Linked DNA regions of Homo sapiens: regions 1 and 3 are each linked to region 2. The links are contacts of gene promoters, found by promoter capture Hi-C in human tissues and cell types (Jung and others, 2019). All regions are on one chromosome and are shown on one strand. Each heading gives the region's core, a stretch centred on a gene start or on the middle of the fragment in contact. The rest is flanking DNA. Distances are from core to core; before and after follow the strand shown.

Evidence for each region. The method cuts DNA at HindIII sites, captures the fragments that hold promoters and counts their contacts. A contact is called where the count stands out against the background at its distance.
Region 1: a contact is called between a fragment that was not itself captured here and the fragment with the promoter of NIPAL4 in region 2, in 1 of the 25 tissues and cell types used here (thymus).
Region 3: a contact is called between a fragment that was not itself captured here and the fragment with the promoter of NIPAL4 in region 2, in 2 of the 25 tissues and cell types used here (mesendoderm cells and thymus).

The regions. Positions count from the first base shown.
Region 1 is chr5:157,268,312-157,271,615 of GRCh38, reverse strand. All of the region lies in intron 1 of CYFIP2 (cytoplasmic FMR1 interacting protein 2), which reads right to left. Among named protein-coding and RNA genes, the nearest start is that of CYFIP2, 3.8 kb to the right of the region's middle. The HindIII fragment of the contact is 6,073 bases long and covers 1-3,304 here.
Region 2 is chr5:157,458,200-157,461,559 of GRCh38, reverse strand. It overlaps NIPAL4 (NIPA like domain containing 4), which reads right to left and starts at 1,347. Exons shown (of 6, transcript NM_001099287.2): 1 at 1,203-1,347. The coding sequence starts at 1,239. NIPAL4-DT (NIPAL4 divergent transcript) reads left to right here and starts at 1,460. Exons shown (of 3, transcript NR_136205.1): 1 at 1,460-1,552. RefSeq lists a silencer at 1,294-1,453. The HindIII fragment of the contact is 8,008 bases long and covers 1-3,360 here.
Region 3 is chr5:157,288,571-157,292,074 of GRCh38, reverse strand. All of the region lies in intron 3 of CYFIP2 (cytoplasmic FMR1 interacting protein 2), which reads right to left. Among named protein-coding and RNA genes, the nearest start is that of CYFIP2, 24 kb to the right of the region's middle. RefSeq lists a silencer at 363-412. The HindIII fragment of the contact is 6,760 bases long and covers 1-3,504 here.

The DNA of each region.
Region 1 (3,304 bases), core at 69-2,568, 190 kb after region 2:
GGGTAACTTGTGCTAATAATAGCTTAAGCACTGAGGTTTGCAAACAAGGTACATTTTATTGTATGTGAGGCGAGGGTTCAAGATCTCTGTGTGATATTATTGCTTGCATGTTCATCTCTTCCCTTGAGTGGCAGGAATGGAGCAGAGTTGGGGGGTTGGCTGTGGGGGCTGATGTGTTCAGCATGTCAACATTGTCCATTTTGTGTACTAAAAAAACCACAACAGCAACCAGTTAAGAATCACTGGATTTGGGCCTCTCTCAGGACCCTCCCAACACTAAAGCAAATGACCATGACTACAGTTGAGACATTCCATCCAAAGGGCTTCCTTAAAGACATGTGTTAAGGATCATGCAGACCATTCTCTGTGGCCAAGGTATACAGGGCATAATAAACCTGTCCAAGGATACTCTTCCTTTGTGCCTTTGCTCAAACTGTCTCCACTCCCTTATGGACTGTCTTCTTCCCTTCTCAAATCTTACCGATCTATCATGGCCCACACGAAGACATGCCTTTTCCACAAAGGTCTGACCAGCCAAGCCCCTTAATGACCTTTATTTCTCTCACTCCCTTAGCACTCACAGTCTAGAGTCCACAGTTTTTAACTGCACGACAAACTGCTTTATATTTCACTAATTCTTTGGATTGCTAAGAATGCCAAGGATAGTCATCTTATCTGAGTTTGACCCATAGCAACCAGCACAGAGATAGGCACACACCAGGAATTACTTGCTTAATTAATACTTCATGAATGATTTGTTGACTGCATGAGCCAATGACCAAAATTCTTAACTTCTGGTTTAAAAAAATTAACAAGAAAGTTAAAATATCATGCTTCTCTAAGGTCCCATATCCAAGGCTGCCTTGTCAATATAAGAATCTGAGGAGAGTTCTTTAGAAAATCCTTCTGTCGTATAGTTTCCACTTCAAACCCTAAGAAGCAGGTCCTCATTTCTCTTTCCCATATGGAAGTATAACAGACTTGGAGATAGGGGGCTGACCTCTAGTTCTGAATTCTTATCTTGCCATTCATATCTTGCCAAAACAAATCTTAAAGCATCATATTTTAAAAGCACAAATCAAAAATAGTTCTCGGATATTCCTTAAGAGTTACTGCATGTCTTCTCTGAGGGTCAGCCCTGCAAATTCTCTTTGATCTCAGCCAGGCCTTCAGTGAAGTTAGACAATTCTCTCATTCTTCCCCAGTTTATTTCTTATTCCACCCACATAGGCAACTGTTCCAAACCCTGAAGTCTCCTGAAGTTTCCTAACCAGTCCATCACCTTTATTTCCTGCAGAGGACCTCACCTCCTGCCTTACTTAGAAAACAGAGAACATGGACAGACTAAACACACCTCTGTTTTACCTAGAGATTAAAGCCTAAGAACCATTGCTCTACAATGACCAAATAATGACGCAAACAGAATCAAAAGGTCTACTGATGAAGTCATCACTGGGTCTTTCTCAGGCATCTCGCAAGAAGGTCCTATTTACTTCCCTCTCTCACTGCCTGTATCTGAGTTGCCCAAAGTCTATCAAAATGCCACGCAACCAGAATGATCCCTGCAAGAAATTCTGCCTGAACTCAAGCTCTGCCTTCTCAAAACAATTTCTTTCAAGAATTTGCACCCTCTGTTGCCAGGGCCCAAGTATGGCTTAAATGGCTATTTTTTGAGGTACATCACACACAGCCCTTAGCATAATGCCCATGGCTAGAAAGCCAATATCTAAGCTCTTTGCATCCTGGGAGGCGTCCCATACCCACTGACTGAATTCTGAAGTGTCTTTGTACAGACAAGGCCATCCAGGGGCCTTGACAGAATCTGTGAATCACAAAGTGCCTTTAAGCTTCCCATTGGCTCAACAGTACAGAGAGGCCACAGATCCATCTTCTTAAAGTGACACACAATATATAATTAATAAATTGTTTCTTAAGGAATGGAGGGCATTTACCCAAAAGAGTCACACATTCAGGAGGCTCCTTCTCTATTTCCACGGCTTTTTTTTCTCAGACTGGGATTTACAGACATTACCTCATCCGCAGGCTTTCATGATGACAGGCAGGTAACAGTTGGGCAGGCTGCCTTCCATTGCTCAATTTTGAACGTCAGAGAGGTAGTGGCTGGTTTAAGGGCACACAGCAAGTCAGGGATCCTGTGTCCCATGCTCACTGTGCTGCTCTGTCTGCCCTGGAAGCAAAGCATGCCCTCAACATTTTTGGATGGTTGCAAAATGCTGAATTCTCACAGAGGAAGAGGCCCTTCCTTAACTCTACGTGTTGAAATGTGAGAATGGCCCTGGGCTTCTGCTTGGCTTGTTCCCTCCCACTTCTCCCTACCTACTCAGGTTCCACCCACCTCTCTTGTGCTACTTAAGAGCACTTCCCACCTGAAGCCTTTCACTTCATGCCCTATCACTCTTAACTTTCCCTTCCTTCGGCCGGTAAACTTGGGGCTGGGTTTACTGGTCACAGAGACCAACTTCCCTCAAAAAAGCAAAATTCAGGAAAGCTCTGGAGGGAGAGGGGCTGGTAATAGCCAAGGGTTGATTACATACATAAGCCAAATTCTTAATGATTATGTAATTAATACATTATAACAATAAATACATAAATATGCTAGTACTTACTATGTGCTAAGCATTCTGCTCGGCACTTTCATGCACCCCTTGGGTAGTAAGAGCATCCAAAGATATTCTAGTTCCTCCCCTGCCTCCATTCACTGCCAAGAAGGCAGCAGCCTGCCCCCCTTCTCCCACCATCTCACTACTGATGCAGGGGCCATCCCCTGGACCCTAGGCATGGCTTTGCTCCTCAGAATGACAGGACCAAAAGCCTTTCATAAAGACTCCAGTGAGGTGACTGATGTCTGGCTTTGTCAATTACAAGTGAATAATTAATACTTGCCAGTAAAGAAATAGACTCATTGTTACGGTGGCCACATGGAGGCTACAAAAGGCCATTTTGTGACGCTTTTGGTGGACCCCTGGGGCCAACAGTGGTCCAAAGAAGCTGCGTTGAGAGTGTAGTCCAATCTTTAAACGTAGGGACTGGGACCCGTACTGTTTTCCAGGAGCGCTTTTCCCGTTAATTAGCTTGTAGCCGATTCATCATCTCATTCAGCTTTCTGGTTGATGACAGCAGCAGAGGCCACTGAACATCAGAGAGGGCATGATTTATCAGAGGGGTCATGTAGTGTTCTACCAGGGCCTTTTACCGGTTTTTGAATTCATGTCTACTTCCTTCTCTGGGCCAGCATCTGATTTGAGTAAAACTCTCCAACCCCACTGGGTTGTACATCCGACTC
Region 2 (3,360 bases), core at 98-2,597:
AGGAAATGAGCCAGAACCTGGGAGAACATGGGCTAGGGGAGGTGACTCCTGAGAGGAAGACCAAACTCATCCCCACGCCCTTCCCCTGCTCCCTGAAGGTGCACCTCTAGCAGATGGAGCCAACGAACCCTCTGTGGATGGACTTGGCTGTCACAGTAAAGCCCGCAACACCCAAGGGCTGAGCATCCTCCATTGAGTCAAGTTCTCCCACTGCAGTGAAAAGTAAAAGACAGAGGGCTGATGGCCAAAGTAATCCAATTCTGAGCATGGGCCAGATGATTCCTGTTATCTCTTCCAGAATATGCTAGGACTGGGGAACACATTCTGGCCTAGAGAAAAGGTGAGGCTGAAAATGCCTGCCTTGTTCAGGAAACCAAAGTCAGACACCTAACAGGCTGGCTTTGAAAGCTTCACTGTAGAAGGGAAGAGGTTAGAGAAACAGGGACATGCCACAGCCTGCAGTTCCAAGACAAGGTAGGAAAGTGGAGCCACACCAAGGAAGGAGTTGAGGTTTTACTGTCCACCAGCCTTGGATCTATATTCCATTTCCTCACTGTATTACCTTGAGCAAATTATTAGCTGCTCAGAGCCTCAGTTTCTGGATCTTTAGAGTGGGGATAGCAAGATAGTAAAATAATAATACCTACCTACCTTCTAGAGTTGTTTTAAGGATTCAGTGAGATAATGCGGGTAAAGGGCCTAGTCCACTACCTGCTTTATGGTCAGAACGCAATAGGAAGTCAGGGGTCTTTCTTTACCCCTTCCTGTGGTTCTTTTTCTTTTCCAAAGACAAGACCGTCCTGTGATGGTCCTCCCATTGACCCAGAGAGAAAGCCCAAACTGCGCAGGTACTAAAACCTGAAGCAACTACACATTAAAAACACAGAATCCTCCCCCCGCCCCCACCACCTCTCAGGGTGTCTGCTGTCGTCAAAATGCCTGCCCCCCACTAACCCCCCATCTCAACCCAGGGGACATACTTTCCTTCCCTGACTCCTCTCAGCCATCCCAGCTGCGAAGATGAAAGTGAAGTCTCAGCCAGAACCCAGATCTTCAAAGCTGGGTGGGAGCCACCTCGTGCTGGCCCTGCCCCTCCCCAGCTTTGGCCCCCCTGGGAGGAGAGGATGCGAGGGAGAGCGGTGGCAAGGAGGGGAGGGCGCGAAGCGCGGAGCCCGCCTGGTCCCCAGCCCTGCCGTACGCACCGTTCTCGCAGCTGGTGTTGCTGACCCGCAGCTCCATGGGGCCCGGGGCACACGAACCGACGCGCGGGCGGACGGCGCCCGGGCTCCCCAGCTCCGGAGCAGGTGGCCGCGACTTGTCCCCCGCGTGGCTCGCGCGCGAGAAGCCGCCGGGGTCCGGACCCAGGGGTGGGGAGAGTGACGCGTCCCAGAGTGGGAGAGTCCCCGGGGAGGAGTCACCCGGCATCTTGGGCAATTCCGGGGGCAGGGGGCCCAGGGCTGGGGCCGCCCGCAGAGGGGCGCATGCCTTCCTGGGGTGAGGACGCTGCCAGGCTCCCAGCTCTGGAGTCACCGCCCCGTGCTAGGGGCAAGAGGTGAGGAGGCGGGTTCCCCGGCACCGCTCCTCCGATGCCTGCACCGGCACCCAGCTCCATCCCCAGGGAAAGAGTACAGGGGACCTAGATGGCTGGAGAAGGGGCAACTTTCCTGCCGAGGTGGAAGTGGCAACATAGGGGTTGGAAGTGGGTACTGCTGCCAATTGGGAACCTGGGTTCCTTCTTTTCCTTCCTTCTCGCCCTCCTACCCTCCCCCTCTCCTTCCTCCCCTCCACCTTTCCTCCCTTCCTTCCATTTCACCCTCCTGCCCTTCCTCCCTGCCTTCTGCCCTGCGACCTCCTTTCCTTGCCTTACCCGTTCATTGATTCAACCCAGGTCTGATCTGTGCTGGTAGGTAACAGGTACATAGTGAGTTAATGCTCAATATATATTTATGTCTAATGAATAGATAATAGGAGCTTGGTAAATTAAATGAAAGAAGGAAATGAAGTGATTGGAGACCAAAATGAGTCAGACTATTCCCTGTCCCCCAAGTACCTTATATTTTAATGGGGGAAACAAAATGTGATCATCTCTTAGAGACCAATGTTTTTGAAATTACCACTTTAAAATTATTTATACACACACACACATACACACGTTGTGATGGAAAGCATATTTGTTACTATGGGTAACAGTAAAAAGCAAGTTAGAAAACCACTGACCTGGAGCATAAAAATAGGTATGTAGAGTTTGCTATAGGCCAGGCAGAGTTCTAAGTGCTGAAAAATTCCAGTTCATTTAATCTTCATGACCGCCTTATAATGTACAGACTTTTATTATTTACCAAAAGGAAACTGAGGCACAAAGTGCTCAAGTAACTTGCTGGGGATCTCAGCTGAGAAGCAGAAAAGCCAGGATCAAACTCGTGCTGTCAGTGGTCACATTAAGCCGCCTGGCATTTTACACTGAAATAAACTGCTCCTGGGCAGTGAGGGTGTGGGGCTACTGAGAAAGCAGTGATTGGTTCTGCCAGTGGTGCTCACCGGCTTCCTGGAGGAGGCAGCTTTTAAGAATTGTTATGTATGGAGTCGTCAGCATGGGCCAGACACTGTGCTAACCCCTTTCCAGGCACTGTCTCATCGAAGCCTCCTAGGAGACAGATATCCTTACTCTTTCCATGCTACAGATAAGAGGAAACTGTTATTTTTAAAAATTTTATCATGAGATAATTTTAGACTTATAGAAGAGTTACGAAAATAGTATAGAGAGTTCCCATATACCTGTCACCAGCTTCCCTTAATGTTAACATCTTGTATAGGAATAGAAAAAACTGTCCTTTAAATACTCTGAGACACTTGCTCCCAAGGTTGCACAGCTAGTGAACGAGGGTGCCAGGTGTAAACCGAGCTGCTCTGACCCCAAGCCTGTCCTCCTACCTACGACCCTCCACTGTCTACTTGCGGACCTCTAGCTGGGCCTCTAAGGATGGGTTCTCCCAGCATGGGGCTTCCTCTAATTTGCTGGATGACTTTAAACAAGTTGCTTACTCTACATAAGGATCAATTTCTTTGTCAAATGCAACAGCCCCTTCTCCAAGGGGTCGGGATCGGGTTGGGGAAGGGAGAGGTTAAAAGAGAAAGGGAAATGTGAGACACAGCAAATGTAACAAGCCACGTTTGCTCATTTTACTTGCTGCATAATTTCACAAGCCCTTGATTCTGTAATGATGTGCACCTCTCTGGAAAAATGCTTTGAAAACAAAGCAGGATACAGCACAAGGCCCCCACAACTTTTGCCTGAGACACTATATTTCTTAAAAGATAAATGACCCTAGACCTTGCCTATTCCTACACATAGGATAATGT
Region 3 (3,504 bases), core at 192-2,691, 170 kb after region 2:
AGGAGGTGGTGGGGTGAGAGGAATTGGGATTGACTACTAACAGGTCCAGGGCATCTTTTAGGGGTGATGAAAGTTAGGTAGTAGCCATGGCTGTATAACATTGTGAATATGCTGAAAACTACTGAATTGTACACTTCAAATGGAAATACACTTTGAAAAAAAAATCACCAAAGAAAGAATTTTACTAGGCCATCTCTTTTTATAAATGTTTATATCTATATTAAAAAATGAACTTTATTTTTAAATCCACATACCACCATTTCATAATATCTTATTAGTATAACAGCAGATCAATTTACTTATGACAGTTCTGTTTTCAGCAGCAAATGTCATTGACAAGTCACACTTCAATGATTAATTTAGAGAACTTTAAAAATCAGTAACATGTTGTCCTTGAGAACAGGGAGAACCAATCAAGCCCGTGGGTCCCGCAGTCATCTGCCTCAGAACACATGTCCAAAAGGGGAAGTGACAGTCACGTAAGGAACACGTGTCTACTTGTAGCACCAACCTGCCTGCCGACGGGTGTTAATTCCGACTCATGCATTCAGTGAATGTTTAACTGGGCACTCATGGGTCCCAGGCTCTGTGCTTTGTGCTGCAAACAGCGCAGTGAACAAGAAGAATGTGAACTCTGCCCTACGGACAGTTTGGCCATCAGCCAGATCTGTCATGCAATTATGCTAGAATGTAGAGGTTAGGATGGTGCAGTGGAAAGAGCCCTGGGTGGGGTCTTGGGAAACTTGAGTTCTGGTCCTCACTCTTCTTGGGCCCACCTTTTAACTTGTAATGTCTTAGTTTCCTTACTTGGAGGTAAAGAGTTGGCCTGAATCATTCGTGTTCAACCCTTGTTGTATATTAGAGTCACCTGGGGAATTTGATGCCTAAGCCATGCCCCAGATTAACTAAATATTTATCCCTGGGGATGGGGTGGGGCACTGGTGTTTTTAAACAATCCCCAGGTTGATTCTCTTGTGCAGCCCACATTGACAGCTTCAGGACTAAGGATCTCTAAGGTCCTTTACATTTCTAATATTCTGAAAGTCCATGACTTAAACCCAATGTGAGTGTAGCTCAAATTTTATGTAGTGACAGATCCAGTGATCACTCAGCCCCCATCTCACCCCAGCAAAGAACCCTCAACTCTTCCATATAGTTGGTCAGTTATGTGGTTTACGTACTTCCCCTCCTCCTCTTTTCTCTGGCTATCCTGTCCTTTGAGAGATTCACCTTGCCCAAGTGGGGACAGGAGACATACAAGAAGATGAGCATCTCATACACCCACATTGCTGCTAATAAGCTACCTTAGAAAGACTGGGGAAGGCACGAGGAAGACACTGTTGACTGAAGGGAGATTTTGGTGTTATCCAGGAATGTCAGCATTGCATGCCACTCATGACTCATGCCTAAGCCACATCAACACTCTCCCTGTGTAGGCAGAATAATGGTCCCCCCAAGATGTCTGTATCCTAATCCCTGGTGCCTGTGAATATGTTCCTTCACATGGAAAGAGGCAATTTGCTGATGTGACCAATTAAGAGCCTTGCAATGGGGGTAGGCGGGTGGTGGTGGTTGTTCTGGATTATCCTGGGGAGCCCAGTGTAAACACAAGGTACTCATAAGCAAAAGAGGGAGGCAGAAGAGTCAGAGAAGGAGATTTGAAGATGCAGGCAGAGATCAGAGTGATGTCACTGCTGGCTGGGGGCCACGAGTCAAGGAATGTAGACACCTCTAGAAGCTGGAAAAGGCAAGGGAACAGACTTTCTCCTGGAGCCTGCAGAAGGAATGCGGCCCTGCTGGCACCCTGATTTTAACTCAGTAAGACCCACGTCAGACTTCTGACCTACAAAACTATAAGCAAATAAATCAGTGTTCTTCTAAGCCACTAAGTTTGTGACACTCTATTAGGGCAGTAACAGAAAATGAACACTATCACTCTCCAACCTAACCCCTCCTTCCGACTGCTCTGTTGGTGTCTTGACCTGGTCTTCCTGGGAACTCAGTCAGTGCAGTCCCAGGTGACTGCTAAGCCAGTGTCCCTCACATCCATATCCTCTTAGCTGTACCCCAGTGCCATCACCCTCATTCAGCCTTGAATGCCTGCAGTGTAGATAACTTTAATTATCTTGACTAATTTATTTGCCTCATTCCTACTTGCAACTCATTCTACATATGACTAACACATGGAATCTGTCCCCCAAGCTGCGTTCTGTTCATATCTCTTTTAAGGATAAAGATTTTTCCATTGTTTTTAATTTTTTATTAAATAAACTAAAGCCTTCTGTTATGGGCTGAATTGTGTGCCCCCCAAATTTATAGGTTGAAGCCCTAACCCCACAGGACCTCAGAATGTGACTGTATTTGGAGACGGGGCCTTTAAAGAGGTAATTAAGTTAAAATGAGGCCATTAGAGAGGGCCCTGATCTAATCTGACTGGTGTCCTTATAAAAAGAGGAAATCTGGACACACAGAAAGAAGGTGCCAGAGATGTGTGCACACAGAGAAGAGACCATGTGAGGATGCAGAGAGAAACAGCCATCTGGGAGCCAAGGAAAAAAGTCTGAGGAAAAACCGAACCTACAGACACCTTGATCTTGGACTTCTAATCTCCGGAACGGGGAGGAAATACATTTTTGCTGTTTAAGCCATTTAGTCTGTGGCACTTTGTTAAGGTATCCAAGCCAACGAATACACCCTCTATGCCCCGACCCTTTATTTGTAGGGAATCTGTAAACAATATCCCTATATGCACTTTACAGTCCATACCAGTCACTCCTCGAAAATCCTTGCCCTGTGCCTTTGCTCACACCAGCTCTTCCACATGGTGTGCTCTCCCCGTCTCATCTCTGACTGGTAAAATTCTAACTGTGTGAGACAGCACGGAACAGGAGAAAGAGATCAGGACTGGCAATCAGTCCTGGATTTCAGGTCCAGTCCTGTGATTTACTGGTTGTGGGATCATGAGCAACCTGCTTATTAACTTTTCTAGGCCTCAGTTTTCTCATCCCTAAAATGGATATAATGATCCCTTTGCAAGTCACAGGGCTGTTATAAAGCTCCAATAATATAATATATGAAAATGCCTTACATATATTTTAAAGTATACTGTATCTACAAGGTATCATTATCCTCCTACAAGGCCTCACACAAAAGCCACTTCCTACATCAAGCTTTCTCTGACTCTCTCAAGGTTCCTTCAAAAACACAGAACTTTGAACTTTTACCATGACATTTACCCTTAACTTCGTGTATTTTTGTTTGTCTGCAAGGCATAGTCTGGAGCAAAGGTTTTGTAGTCAGGCAGACCTTGATCTAGAGCTGTCACTTGTCAGCTGCAGGACCCTGAGTAAGTTATGCAATTTTTTTGGGCTCCAGTTTTCCCCATCGGCAAAATGGATATGATAATAGAACCTACCTCACAGGGTTGATGTCAGGAGCAAATGAGACAATGCATCTAAAATATCTGTATAGAAAAAGCATTCGATAAATGGTAAGCTTATCTAT